2 separate regions of the Homo sapiens genome follow, and region 1 is linked to region 2. Evidence: promoter capture Hi-C in 16 types of primary human blood cells and fetal thymus (Javierre and others, 2016). All regions are on one chromosome and are shown on one strand. Each heading gives the region's core, a stretch centred on a gene start or on the middle of the fragment in contact. The rest is flanking DNA. Distances are from core to core; before and after follow the strand shown.

Evidence for each region. Contacts are between HindIII fragments. The CHiCAGO score rates a contact against its expected background, and 5 or more counts as called.
Region 1: a fragment that was not itself captured here is called in contact with the fragment with the promoter of RSBN1 in region 2 in 1 of 17 cell types (total CD8 T cells); the score reaches 5.4 in total CD8 T cells.

What each region holds. Positions count from the first base shown.
Region 1 is chr1:114,745,149-114,752,542 of GRCh38, reverse strand. It overlaps CSDE1 (cold shock domain containing E1), which reads left to right. Exons shown (of 20, transcript NM_001007553.3): 2 at 2,336-2,722. Among named protein-coding and RNA genes, the nearest start is that of CSDE1, 9.1 kb to the left of the region's middle. The HindIII fragment of the contact is 3,487 bases long and covers 856-4,342 here.
Region 2 is chr1:113,806,988-113,814,773 of GRCh38, reverse strand. RSBN1 (round spermatid basic protein 1) reads left to right here and starts at 2,298. Exons shown (of 7, transcript NM_018364.5): 1 at 2,298-3,064. The coding sequence starts at 2,362. AP4B1-AS1 (AP4B1 antisense RNA 1) reads right to left here and starts at 2,162. Exons shown (of 5, transcript NR_125965.1): 1 at 1,949-2,162; 2 at 283-387. PTPN22 (protein tyrosine phosphatase non-receptor type 22) reads left to right here. Exons shown (of 21, transcript NM_015967.8): 21 at 1-963. RefSeq lists enhancers at 1,898-2,427, 2,164-2,553, 2,428-2,957, 2,934-3,023, 3,174-3,233 and 1 more. The HindIII fragment of the contact is 4,966 bases long and covers 1-4,600 here.

The sequences.
Region 1 (7,394 bases), core at 1,350-3,849, 940 kb before region 2:
AATAGAGACACCTGGAATAGTAGTTCTTAATCCTGGCTGGAAGTCAGAAACACTTGGAGCAGGGGTTGGGGGGAGATAACAAGGCCTGGCACCTAACCTAGTGTAGTTAAATTTAGAATCTTTGTACGGGACTCAGGCTTTGATTTTGTTGGTTTTTGTTTGTTTGTTTGTTTAAGGTTGCTGGGGGTGGGTGGATAGCCAGGATTAAAAACTTCCCATCTAGAATGGTGGAAAAATAACTGAAGATGTTTGACAGGGGAGATGAGAAATGAAATTGGAGAGTTTTTGTTTTGTTTTGTTTTTTGAGACAAGGTTCTGATCTGTCTCCCAGGCTGTAGTGCTGTGTCACTATCTTGTTCTCTGCAGCCTTGACTTCCCAGTCCTAAGTAGCTGAGGCTCCAGGCGTATACCACCATGCCTGGCTAATTTTTTGTATTTTTAGTAGAGATGGGGTTTCTCCACGTTGCCCAGGCTGGTCTGGAGCTCCTGGGCTCAAGCAGACCTCCTGCCAAGGCCTCCCAAAGTGCTGGGATTACAGGCGTGAGCCAACTCACCTGGCCAAAATTCAAGTTTTTGATAGTCTGGTGGTGGTATGTGACAGAAAATGGAAAGTGTGCACACTGGAAGTTGGCGGATATATTAGACACCTGAGCTAAAATATGTCACTTAGTAGGATAAGAGATGAATACAAAAGATATAGCGAGGGAAATACTAACACAACTTGCAACATTGGGTATGGTGATGGAGAGGGGAAGAATCAAGATAGTTAAAGAAGTGGCCCTACCTCAAACCAGTTGTATTACTCTGAGTGGAGGCTGGGCATAGGTTTGTTTTTGTTTTTTTTTTTTTAAAGCTTCCCAAGTATTTGAGCACCATTACCCTGAGACATATATCTAGTCTGGGTAATAGGAGAATGATCTAAATAAAGTTGAAAGATCAGACAAGTGTATGTAACATTTGATATTTGAAGGAACATGGGATGTTAGAGAATAGAAAATGGCCAGATCAGCTGTTATTGAGTTTTTATTTTACATGTGAGGAAAGTGAAACTTAGAGAGATTAAATAACTTGTTCATGGTATTTACTAGTACCAGTGATTGCGATTAGGCTCTTCTGGTCTGAGCTATTTAATCAGCTCTGACCTCTCACCTGATAATCATTCTTCTGATGTTTTCAAATATCCATTTCTCAGCACGTACACCTTTTTCTTATCTCTGTAGAAATAATTTTCGTTAACACCATTTTGTAACTTTGGAGTCAGTGCAAAATTGTTGTTTATTTTATAGCTAATATAAAGCAGAAATGTGATTTTTACTGATAAATAAATTTTATTTCTCTTCTATAGACATTTCTCATCTATTTACTGCAGCAGTGCAAATGAGATTTCTGTTTGCTTACTAAGTCATCTCCTTTAGGATTTCAAGACTTAATACCACTTTCATCAAAAACTAAGGCACTGTTTCCTGTTACATCACGTTGAAATGCTTCATAATCGGGCTCCGCTACACCTGTCACACTACATATCCTATTTCACTTCAGCCCAGCTCTCTGTTCTAGCCAGGCTAGCCTGTTGATTTTCCTCTGAAACAACAAGCCACACATGTTGCCACAGGCATTCATGCAGAAGACTTCACTTGATGCTGGGCTTAGAAAATCATAGAATGCATGGTCGCTGCTCTGAAGAAAGAATTTAGTGGCATATTCTCGCTTGACTTATGTGCTGTTTCATGCCTAGAATACTCAGCTATTTTCTTTCTCCTAGAATTCTGCCTGATTTTCCAGGTTCACTTCAAATTCCACTTATTTAAAAGCCTTGGTTGCTTTGATGGACATGCAGTTGTGGATAAACAATAAATAATATTTCTAGATAGTCTGTGACATAATAGATACCTAGATACTAATTGAGCAAAATAATTTTTGGCATTTTTGTCCTATACTCTGTTTTTTTTTTCCATGTTTACATCTTGTCTTTTCAGCAAGATTGTCTATGCTCTCATGGCAGGGACTTCTTTTATGTTTTCCACAGAGCTAGATCCTTATAAAATACTTGCACTAAATTAAACATTATGCCATGTAACTGAGCTTATTTGGGGGAAGAGGTCAATAAAGACTATGGAATAATTTGAGGTCTTGGGTATGAGATACCAAAGGAGGTAGTTGCTAGTACTTGAGAGATTGCTCCAAATAACATCAGATGAGCATGCTTCCAAGTTTCCTGCATTACTTGCATGACCCATGATTCTAAGTTAATGAAATGAGTTTGTCCCTCTTCTCACCCACTGTCCCTGATTATTTTATGTATGTTATACTTAATGTCTTCATTTTTTACCTTTAGTATGAAGTGTAACAGAACAGACTTTACCACCTGAAACTGCTGCTTCAAGTTCAGATCAGGCAAGGAACAAACCTCGTAACAACTAACAAGACCAAAGAAGAGTACACTTAAGTTGAAGACACAACACTTGATCTGAAACAAGAAGTTTGTGCCTACTCAACAGCTTTGAAAGAGCACTTCCCAACGCTGCTAGTAGTCTTTGTTTTCTTCAGTGCTGTACTGTGAGATTGCCCGGTACAGCAGCAGTTGTATTCTTTATTAGCTTGGTAGATCATTTTCTCTCGCTCTTTTTTTTAATACTAGCAACTTTCATCCTTTGAAACGTGTGCTGAAAAAGAAGAATCAGCAAATACTACTGAAAGTGCAATATTTGAGTATCACTGCGAGGTAGGTTTGTAATTTCCTATTAAGAATCAGTTCCATAATTCTAGATTTCCTGATTATTTGGTCAAATATAAAATCTTTATTTGTTCTTTTCTAAAGGTATTCAGAAGACAGTTTTTCTATTCTCAACTAGTATGAAATATCAACACTATCTCTTGTTAGATAAGGACAGTATTTATGGTCAAACATTTTTCATACCAGATTATATTAATACATGCTGATCTCTCGACTTGCTGGTCTCTTAGAGAAGCTCCGTCTGTACTATTTAGAAGTTAGGATTTCAAATAAGAATGTGCATTGCAGTCTTTCTATGAGGGTCTGTGAAACTTTGGTGATATTTGCTACTGACGTCTGTTTCTTTCTCTCTACTGTCTTCAATGTTAGCTTCTTGAGGAAAGAACCTTACTTTATATCCATGCCTACATTTGCAGTGCATATTTGTGAACGGTATACAGTGCACATTTGTAAATGGTTGACATGCCTACTGTATTGTTAGGCATTGCTAGTGCTGAAATATAACGAATGAATAAGATACTAATGGACTTAATGATTTAGAACAATTTGTTACACAATATCACAATATAGGCTAAAAGATACTAATAAAATATTAAGAATATAACTGAAGCTGTTCCCTTGGAGGTAAGGAGGAGGGTAAAGAAAGCCTACAGAAAAGGGATATTTGAAGGTGAGTAGTACCTTGTTAAGAGGTAGAAGAGACATTGGTAGAGGTATAGAGGTAACAGAATTAGCAGATTCAGGGCTACGTGAAAGCACATGGTATATATTAAGTTGTTCATTATGAACAGAGTAGAGAATATAATTTTGCGGGAGAGTTATGAAAGGGAAGTTTGCTGGAGGCTTGGCCCAATGCATTTGTCTTTATTCCGTAGGAGAGCCATCAGATGTCTATAAGCAAGGGCTTAAGGGTTTTTCCCCCAAAAGTAAGATAGCTTTATTGCTTCACATTTTAAAGTAATATTCAGAAGTGTACCTTTAAAAGACAAATGGTGACACTTTTGAGGGAAAGGCTGAGGATGGGAAGACCTGTCAAAAGCAGTGGATCAAGTATAAGGAAGATAAAAGCTAAGGTGTAGGTAGAGAAAAAGGTAGGTGCTAGGTGTTCTGATGATTTAGAAGTGAGGACTTGGGGACCAATTGAATCTGAAGATAAATGTGGAGAGAATGGCTTTATCAAATCCAGTTGTGCAAACTAGAAACCTTCATTGTTCATAGGAATAGGGAAGTTAGAGTAGTAACTTACTGATATTAAAATATGTTATGGAAATCTATTGTGTTCATTAGATAGCAATCTGAAGTTGAAGGAAATACACTAGTATGGAATATTGAACAGTGGTTAACTTTGAGGGTAGGCTTATGAAGAGCAATTTTCCTTTTTAATCTTTAGTTTCCAGATTTTCTAAAGTTAGACATAAAGGAATTCAGAAAGGAGTCATCAGTGTATAGGTAATAAAAGGAAGAAGCACCAATGAAGAGAGCAAAGACATAGAAGTCAGGAAAAAGCACCAACGATAATTTCAGGAAGTCAATGGTAAACATTTTTTTAGATGCTACAGAGGTCAAATAAAATGAAGAATGAAAATAAGTCATTCAGTTACAAAAGCTTCACTGCTATTTCAAGAAGCGCTTAGGACTTTATTTCCAATTTATTGAAGGATTATGTAATAGTGTCAGTGACCTTGCTGTGCACTAGAATTATTCCTTAACAACTAAAAACTATAGTAAAATTATCTATGTCTCATAAACAGACACTGTTATTTAATTTTAAGGTAATTGTAGCATTTAGTTTTTCTATTTGTTTCTTCTTACCTTAGCTGATTTTTAAAAAATAATTTTAGACTAATTGTTGTGGATTCTGTTGGATTAGATAGGGAAGATTAACACAAATTGAAACCACAATTTTATGTTCTGAAGCATAAAAGATTAGATTTTTTTTTTTTTCCTCTCTGAGACAGAGTCTTGCTCTGTCGCCAAGGCTGGAGTGCAGTGGGGTGATCTTGGCTCACTGCAGCCTCTGCCTCCCAGGTTCAGGTGATTCTTCTGCCTCAGTCTCCTGAGTAGCTGAAATTACAGGCGCGCATCACCATGCCTGGCTTATTTTTGTATTTTTAGTAGAGACGGGGTTTCACCGTGTTGGCCAGTCTGGTTTTGAATTCCTGACCTTGTGATCCACCCGCCTCGGCCTCCCAAAGTGCTGGGATTACAGGCATGAGCCACCGTGCCTGGCAAGATTAGATATTAAGGCTTTCATTTCATTGACATGATTTATAGAAATAGATTTAACGAAGTCCTTTTTGTTTAGTGTAATCTTTGTATTCTGAATATTAGTTTACTACATGAACATTTTAATATATAAATGCATCCATAGCTGTCTAAAAATTACATGTTTACATATGTACAAAGAAACCACAATTGGGATGAAGATTATTGGCAGTAAAACATGGCTGTGGTTGTACAGTTGTGAAATAGTTCAGTTAAAGGGGGCACACAGCTAAGAAAACAGATTTGGTAATGCAATGGAACCCCCAGATTTTAAAGGGGGGTTTTGTAAAATCAGTAAAAATAGTACGTAATTAGGAACAAATATATATAGAAGGGTAGAATTAGCCATAAAATGGCAAGAAAGAATAAGGCTTATAAAGCATTTGTTTGAGATGTGAAAATAGACCTGAATTGTTTGGTGAATGATTTGATCCAGGTTAGTCTAAAGGTGACAGACAAGAGAAAAGCAAAACTAGAAAATTCCTGTCGCGCTCCTAGTTTTTTCTGCTGAATGCAATAATTTTCATACTTGAAACATAGCAAAGCAAGAGAAAACTGAGGCCCCAGATGAGTGAGAAAATAACAGGATTACTTGGCGGTTGCTAGGGTGCTAGTTGCTAGGTGTGTGATAGTAGTCAAATAGAGACCTATGACAGGAACTGTAAATGTCCTGATTTTTCAGTCAGATGTGGGAACTATTGAGCTTACTTTTCATCCCTAGCAAAAACCCCAGAGCCAGTGAATAAATAACTTGGCAGACTAGCTCATGATAGCATAATGGTCAATATGGAGAAATGTTGGATGGATAGCAGTTAGTAAGAGACTGATTTTAGAGAAGTCTCCAGGTGTATGCTGCCAGATGCTATCCTCGCCCTGCTTTTTTCAGAGACCTAATGAGTAGTTCTGTGAGTACCTATGTGCTACGTAAGCACTTATTTTAGGCTTTTTACGTGCAGCAACTCATTTAACCATCTCAACAACTCTGTGAGACAGGTGTTAAGGTAGGAGAATGAATGATTAAAAGATAAACTACAAAGAGTCTGATAATTTAAAATTAGTCACCAAATTGGAATACTAGATTAACCAACAGAAGGCATTTTAAAAGCATTAGGTTATAGTTTTTTTATTTGGGAACAAACGATCCATTACGGAGGAACTGAAAGAAAACCTGATTTCGCTAATGTGATTTGTGAAGAAATGATGGGGATGTGTTTTAGTTTTACAAAGTTATAAAACTTCAGTCTACAGAATCAAGGAGTGTAATCACTCAGTACTTTATATTGGTCGGGTACATTAAGAATAGTAGTGAAATGCACTTTAATGAATAATTACTTAGAACCTATCCAGAAGACAGCAATTAGTGTTAAAAATGGTTGTGTTCAGAAAATTGGAAGAAACAGTGGAAGTCAAGGGGAGGTATGTCTGAGAATACAGAGTAGTTTTCTAAAGATCTTATGGTGAAATAGGCTACCTTTTCCAAATTGATTGTCAATCAGTAGAAGCCAAGCAGACCAGATTAGGGGGGAAAAACAACTTAGATGTTGTAATAAATTACAAAGCATAGATTTCCACCCCCTCTCCCCAAAGGAACTTGGAAACCAGTTAGGTGCTCCCACTTTACTTTTGAGGAAAAAATCCCAGAGATGTTAAAAGTACTTGAGAGTCAGGACTGAAAGCCAGTCTTTTGACTTTTATGTTCTTCAGGGAACTTTAATCAATTTCTTGAGTTACAAATGAAGTTTAAATTTGACCTGAGATTTGTTCCATTTCTGCTTTTATTAAAGGAGGACTAATTTTGTCAATGACTTTTTCAGTTTAAAAGTAAATATGTAGAAAAGGGTAGAAGGTCTAAACTTTATGAGGCTGGAGATATTTGTCTGTTGTGTTACCTACTATATGAGTAGAACCTAAAATAATGCTGATGCATTGTATGAACTTAATTGTGGTTGAATGAATAAGGCAGTGGTTAAGAATGGAGTCAGAACTGGATTCTGTTCCCACATTTGCCATTTTTAGCGCTGTGCCCTTAAGATGGCTAAGTGTTTTCTCATCTGTGAACATTAGATTTTCTGGTCTTTAAATACATTTGAAATCATACTGTATAAATATCTTATGTCTCATTTCCTATTACAGAATAAGCATTTTCCACATATTGTTTCCAATGACCACATAGCATTACATAAGTTACAATGACGTCTTGAGCTATAAAGTGTGTTAGACTTTATATTATTTCCAGGAATTTGCTACAAAAATATATTTGTTAAAATACTTGTGTATAAAGCTTTTTTCACATTTCAGATTTCCCCAGGAGAGCTTTTCTGCAATGCAGTTATTAAGAAAAATATCTCCACATTTTGATACATGTTGCTAAATTGCATTTCTAAAAGGTTGTACC
Region 2 (7,786 bases), core at 1,049-3,548:
TTTTAAAAGAAAAGCAAAATGCCAATAAGTGCCAGTTTTGCATTTTCATATCATTTGCATTGAGTTGAAAACTGCAAATAAAAGTTTGTCACTTGAGCTTATGTACAGAATGCTATATGAGAAACACTTTTAGAATGGATTTATTTTTCATTTTTGCCAGTTATTTTTATTTTCTTTTACTTTTCTACATAAACATAAACTTCAAAAGGTTTGTAAGATTTGGATCTCAACTAATTTCTACATTGCCAGAATATACTATAAAAAGTTAAAAAAAAAACTTACTTTGTGGGTTGCAATACAAACTGCTCTTGACAATGACTATTCCCTGACAGTTATTTTTGCCTAAATGGAGTATACCTTGTAAATCTTCCCAAATGTTGTGGAAAACTGGAATATTAAGAAAATGAGAAATTATATTTATTAGAATAAAATGTGCAAATAATGACAATTATTTGAATGTAACAAGGAATTCAACTGAAATCCTGATAAGTTTTAACCAAAGTCATTAAATTACCAATTCTAGAAAAGTAATCAATGAAATATAATAGCTATCTTTTGGTAGCAAAAGATATAAATTGTATATGTTTATACAGGATCTTTCAGATCATGTGCAATTTTTATCTAACCAATCAGAAATACTAGTTTAAAATGAATTTCTATATGAATATGGATCTGCCATAAGAAAATCTAGTTCAACTCTAATTTTATGTAGTAAATAAATTGGCAGGTAATTGTTTTTACAAAGAATCCACCTGACTTCCCCTAATGCATTAAAAATATTTTTATTTAAATAACTTTATTTATAACTTTTAGAAACATGTAGTATTGTTTAAACATCATTTGTTCTTCAGTATTTTTCATTTGGAAGTCCAATAGGGCAAATTGAATGAAGTATTATTATCTGTCTCTTGTAGTACAATGTATCCAACAGACACTCAATAAACTTTTTGGTTGTTAAACTGACTTCATTGCAGTAGTGTTTAGGTAATACTTCTCCAGAAACTAGTGAAATCAAACCACAGTAATTTTATCTGCTGAGTATATATCATTGTAATCAATTACTTCCAAATGTCTTTATCAATAAACAAATATACTAAAAGAATTCTAGGTAACCATGAGTTACTTAGGGCACCATGAGTGCATCTGTAGACCCAGCTACTCATTCCTTGAGCCCAGGAGTTGGAGGCCAGCCTGGTCAACAGAGCGAGACCTTGTCTCTTTTTTTTAAGAGTCAGGGTCTAGATCTGTCACCCAGGCCAGAGTGCAGTGGTGCGACCACTCCTCCCACCTTAGCCTCACGAGTACCTGGGACTACAGGCGCGTGTCACGACACCCAGATAATTTAAAAAATACTTTTGTAGGGACAGAGGCTCACTATGTTACCAACGCTGATCTGGAACTCCTGGCCTCATGCAATCCTCCCGCCTCGGCCTCCCAAAGCTCTGGGATTACCGGCCTGAGACACCGAGCCCCGCCCCGCCCGTCTCTAAATAAATACTTAAAAGAACCCCAGGTAAAAGCTAAAGCGAGGATGAAATTCTAAATGAATTTCTGAGCAACAACTATCCGTAGTGAGCAGTGATGATTTTTGGTGTGTTCTCCGGTAGGCACACTTTTCAAATTTATGCAATCTTATCCTTAAGATTTGAAAAAAAAAAACTTATAAAAAATCTTAAACGTGGTTTTCCATCTACAATTTTTCGCAACTGTAGGGATATATTCAAAATAAATGCTGGACATTTCCAGGCATTAGAGGGGATGTGGCCGGATGGCGAGGAGGGGCCGTCCTCACCAGGACTCCAAGCAGTTCTCGCACCTGACTTCGTAGGCCTGTAGTTGTAACCATAGCAATGCCCCAGATGCTTGAAAACATTTCTGAATTGCGGCCCTATCATATTTTTACAGCAAAACCACCCTTATTTTACATATTACTAAATCCTCTTTTCACCTTCATTTCATCCCTCGTCAAAGTTAAAAGGATGAAGATTCTTTTATCTCACAAAGGTTATGAGAGAAATATTAAATTTAAAATCACTGTGGAGACCACCTCCTCCGTGTAAAATGAGGAAGGGTCACAGGAAGATGATAATGGGAACGCGCCGCCAGACTCTGAAAGCCATTAACATTGTTTCGGCCGTTAGGGCGGTTGGCGGCAACTCACCGCCCAGCGGCGGTTGCGTCGCAGCCAGAAGCGTGACTTCGCGCACGCTCCCTTTCCACTCCTCCACTCAGAGCCGGGGACGCGGCGGGGGCGCGGCGGAACTACAGCTCCCATGACGCTTTGCGCGGCATAGGGTGCTTTACAATAGAAGCTCGGTTGGAGAGGCCTGCGGAGAAAAGCTGGGAACGGCCGCTTCCGGCATGTTCATCTCTGGACGAAGAACGGCCGACAAGTGGAGGGCGGAGGAGAGACTCCAATGCCCAGCGGGCAGTGCGCGGGCGGCGCTTGCGCGATGCGCGGACGGGGGGGCGGTCGGGCCATTTAAATGTGTGTTTGTGGGTGAAATGGCTGCGCAGGTCGGAGCGGTGCGCGTAGTACGGGCGGTGGCGGCGCAGGAGGAGCCGGACAAAGAGGGGAAGGAGAAACCTCATGCTGGGGTCTCCCCGCGGGGAGTTAAACGGCAGCGCCGATCTAGCAGTGGGGGGTCTCAGGAGAAGCGGGGGCGGCCGAGCCAGGAGCCCCCTCTCGCTCCCCCTCACCGGCGGCGTCGCAGCCGCCAACATCCTGGGCCGCTGCCGCCAACGAATGCAGCCCCAACTGTCCCAGGCCCTGTTGAGCCTCTTCTCCTGCCGCCTCCGCCGCCACCTTCGCTGGCACCCGCCGGGCCCGCTGTCGCTGCCCCTCTCCCGGCCCCAAGCACCTCGGCCCTCTTCACCTTCTCGCCTCTGACGGTGAGCGCGGCCGGGCCCAAGCATAAGGGCCACAAGGAGCGGCACAAGCACCATCACCACCGCGGCCCCGATGGTGATCCCAGCTCCTGCGGAACCGATCTCAAGCACAAGGACAAGCAGGAAAACGGCGAGAGGACTGGAGGGGTGCCTCTGATCAAAGCCCCCAAGAGAGGTGAGAGCAGGCAAACTGCCCGGCTTGGGTTCTAGGTCTCTCTCAGTTCCGATATCCCGCATCTTTAGGACTGAAAGACGCCAAACCCCTGCTTACCTTCTGCTGCTGTACTTCTCTAAGCTCACTGGGGTGGACCCTGGATTTCAGATCGTTGACACGGTTTGATCTAACTACTTGAGGCTTCTCGCTCCGAGGCCGAGCTGTCAGTTGCTAATCCCTTTACCGGTCCCCCGGAGCCTCTCAGCATTTGTTTTCAAATTCTGCAAGGTTTCCGCGCCGCGTTAGATTAGTAGGTGGGGTACTAAAAAATGCCTTTCCAAAGAAAAGGCATGTTCCTAAAATCCCTTCTCCTTGTTTTGCTTGCTGGAGAGCTTTAGTTATCTGCTCTCCCTTGCTCCAGAATAGTCAGGGGTATGGTTCCAGTCTTTCAGGAGGGAATTCATATAAAGGTTACACGACTCACTGGTTGACTTAGCTTCTGCAAGGTAAAATATCAGACGCAGTTTATCTTGGTTCTTTTTAATCTAGAGGTAAAAATCATTTTAAAGTTTTCATATTAGCTATTTAAATTCTTAGAATAGGCATGTGGAAGGTTTTCTCTACCCTTTGATACTAGGAAATAGGACCAACAGTGCCTCTGAAAAGTGGGAATTTGTGCAGTAGATAGTAGAGGCCGGAATTTCAGTTGCATTTGATTCTGTCTAGCACACTTTGTGGATCTGTTAATTCCAATAGCCCTCAAGAATATTTTACTAGAAAATGTCAGAGTATCCAATTAAATGTGGATTCTAGAAAAATTAGATTGGCCAGAACTGATGTCTTCCTGTTCCCAAGTACCTGTAGCATTTATTTATATTCTTTGTGGAAGAAATGTGATGCTTTTGATTATGCCGTATGTTTGTACTTTATATATTATTTTATATAATTTACTAGTTGTTTTTCCTCAGGAATATTTGAAATACTTGTTTCTTAGTACTGGACCAGTTAGGTTATTACATGTTAATGAGACAATCTTTCAACCTAAAGTTTTGTGAGTCTTGCATTCTTTCCACGTATTGAGTCTTAAGGCTAATCATTTTTTTTGGTGGTGCTATTTCCGAATACTGTAGTTCGTTGCAAATAATTGCTCAATAAGTATTTATTGAATAGCATTAAATTTTTATTCATTTGGTGGCATCCAAATCTTGGGAGTAGAACTTGTGGCAAGATGACAGGACTGCCAGTTTTCACCACCAATATGCAATGATCTTGCTCTCTTTTTATTTTTACTTTTATTCCCTACTTTCTCATTTCTTGTGTGTGTGTGTGTGTGTGTGTGTGTGTGTTTTAACTGTACAGAACTAGAGGGAATTAGTGATCCTCTGGCTTAAATTTGTATTGTAGAAAAGGAAACTGAGGCCCAAAGTAGTAAAGAGGCCTGTTCAATCAAATCACAGTTAATTCGCATGAAGTGCAAAAAAATTAAATATTTTTTAAAAAGGTGAATATTGGCATAACAGGCAGTAGAACCCAGGCTCCTGAATCCTGCTTCAAGCTTCATCTCCAGGCTTCATGATGTTGCTTTCTCTTCCTGCTATTCATTTTTTCCACTCCTTTGTTTACCTTTTCCCTGTGCTTTGACATTACAGTGGCTTTATATCATCGAGGATCTCTGACCTGGCCCCGTTTTATGGGGGATAGTGGCAATAACATGTGTAATAATTTACAATCTTTCTCTGAAGATTGCACAGGCCCCATGTTCTTTAAAAAACACACTTCTGACCTAATGCTGACTGATAGAACTTTCTCAGATGATGGAAATTTTCTGTATTTGTGCTGACCAATATGGTAGCCGTATGTGGTTCCTGAACAGACTTGAAATGTGGCATGATTGAGGAACTGAAATTTTGATTTTATTTAATTCTAATTAATTTATAATTAGTCACATATGGCTAGTGGCTACCACACTGGACAACACCACTCTAAATATCTGTAGTTTGCCAACATGTGAAGAAGAGAAGTGGGTTAAGATAAGCCCATTTAAACATTTTAACTTTTGGCTGAGAGATTGTTGGATTATATACCCAAACTATATTTTGGGTGAAAAAGAATTTTTTGGTCAAATACATTTGAGAAAAACTGTGTACTGTAGCCTTCTACATATGTAACATGAATTGGCAAACTGGCATTTTAAAAGTTTTGAAAACCCTACAGAAAATAAACTGGTTTAACTTTGTTTAATCCAGGCTTTTGCACATAGTTTGACTGATATCTTTTTTGTCCTCTGAACATCTTTATTGTTACAGTGGTATGCAGGAGGCATGCCTCTGGTATTAATCTGAGTTTAAATCATGGCTCTAACACTTACTGTGTGAGCCTGAACAAATTGCTTTACCCTCTCTCAACTGCACTTTTCCTGTCTATAAAATGGGGTTGTGGTATTTCATTTATAAGGAACTTGTGTGGATTAAATAGGGCATTGTGTGAAAGTACTTACAGCAGTGCCTGGCTCATTGTAGGCACTTACTTAAAACCGGCCTTTATTATTTTATTATGCATGGTCCCTAAAACAACTCTAAGATTAATAAGGAGAGTGGGCAGATTCTTGTTACTTACAAAGCTATGTCCTTCCTTCGCTTATCCTCAGATTTTTGGAAACTATTTTAACTGTTTTTTTTTTTTAGATAATTAATGATTCACAGGAAATTGCAAACATAGTCAAGTCCTTACCTTTTACCAGTTTCCCTCAGTGGCTACATCTTACATAACTATTGTATAATATCAACACCAGGAAATTGACATTGGTACAATGTATATGTAGTTATATGCTATTTTATCATATGTAGATTAGTGTAACCACCACTACAATCAAGATACAGAACTGTTCCACCACCACAAACCCTTTACAGCCTTAGGCACTCCCTCTGTCTCTCTACTGTCCCTGTCCTCTGGCAGCCACTAACCTGTTTTGTCATTTTGAGACTATTATATAAGTTGAATCATACAGTATGTGATCTTTGGAGATTGCCCTTTTTCACTCAGTGTGATGTCCCTGAGATCCATCCCTCTTTTTCATTGCCGAATAGTGTTCCATGGTATGGATGTACCATGGTTCACCTATTGAATCATTCCCGTATAAGAAAGGACATTTTGATTATTTCTAGTTTTTGGCTATTATAGATAGAGCTTCTATGAAAATTGGTGTTCAGGTTTTTGTGTGCATGTAACTTTTCATTTCTTTGGTCGTATGGTAAATACAATTAGCCCTCTGTATCCATGGGTTCCACATCAATGGATTCAGCCAACCTGGGATTGAAAATATTTTCAAAAAAACATTGTCTGTACTGGACTTGTGCAGACTTTTTTTTTCTTGTCACTGTTCCCTAAACAATACAGTATAACAATTATTTATATAGCATGTACATTGTATTAGGTATAAATAATCTGGAGATGATTTAAAATATAGGGGAGGATGTGCATAGGTTATAAGCAATTATTATGCCATTTTATATGAAGGACTTGATCATCTTGGATTTTGTTGCCCTGGGAGGCTCTGGAACCAATCCTCCATGGATACCAAGGATGACTATATATATTTATTTTGTTTGTTTGTTTTTTAAGATACTGCCAAAGTATTTTCTGGAGTGTCGGTACCATTTTACATTCCTGTCAGCGGTGTAAGAGAAATCCATTTTCTCCACATTCTTGCCAGTATCTGGTATTGTCACTATTTTTATTTTAGCAATTTTAATAGACGTGTGGTGATACATCATCATGATCTTAATTTGCATTTCCCAAATGGCTAGTGATAATACACATCTTTTCATATCATCATTTGCTGTCTATATATCCTGGTCAGTAAAATGTCTCTTTATACCTTTTGCCTATTTTCTAATTGAATTTTGTGTGTGTGTGTGTGTGTGTGTGTGTATACATATACATATATATATATATATAATTTTTTTTTTTGAGACAGAATTTCACTCTTGTTGCCCAGGCTGGAGAGCAATGGTGCAATCTCGGCTCACTGCAACCTCTGCCTCCCGGGTTCAAGCGATTCTCCTGCCTCAGCCTCCCGAATCGCTGGGATTACAGGTGCCTGCCACCACACCCAGCTACTTTTTTATATTTTTAGTAGAGACGGGGTTTCACTGTGTTGGCCAGGCTGTTCTCGAACTCCTGACCTCAGGTGATCCACCCGCCTCAGCCTCCCAAAGTGCTGGGATTTCAGGCGTGAGCCACTGCGCCCGGCCCTTGAATTGTATATTTTTTATTACTGGGTTTTGATAATTTTTTGTAGATCACAGGTGCAGCTTCTTTGTATGGTTTGCACATATTTTCTCCCAATCTGTTGCTTGTCTTTCCATCCTTTTTGTTTGTTTGCTTGTTTTTATTTTGGTTGTTTTTTTTTTTTTTTGAGATGGATTCTCACTTTGTCACCCAGGCTGGAGTGTAGTAGCACGATCCTGGCTCACTGCAACCTCCACCTCTTGGGTTCAGGCGATTCTCCTATGTCAGCCTCCCGAGTAGCTGTGATTACAGGCATCTGCCACCATGCCCGGCTAATTTTTGTGTTTTTCAGTAGAGACGGGGTTTCGCCATATTGGTCAGGCTGGTCTTGAACTCCTGACCTCAGGTGATCCGCCCGCCTTGGTCTCCCAAAGTGCTGGGATTACAGGCATGAGCCACCACGCCCAGCCTGTTTGTTTTTGTTTTTTTGGGGAGGGTCTCACTCAGTTACCC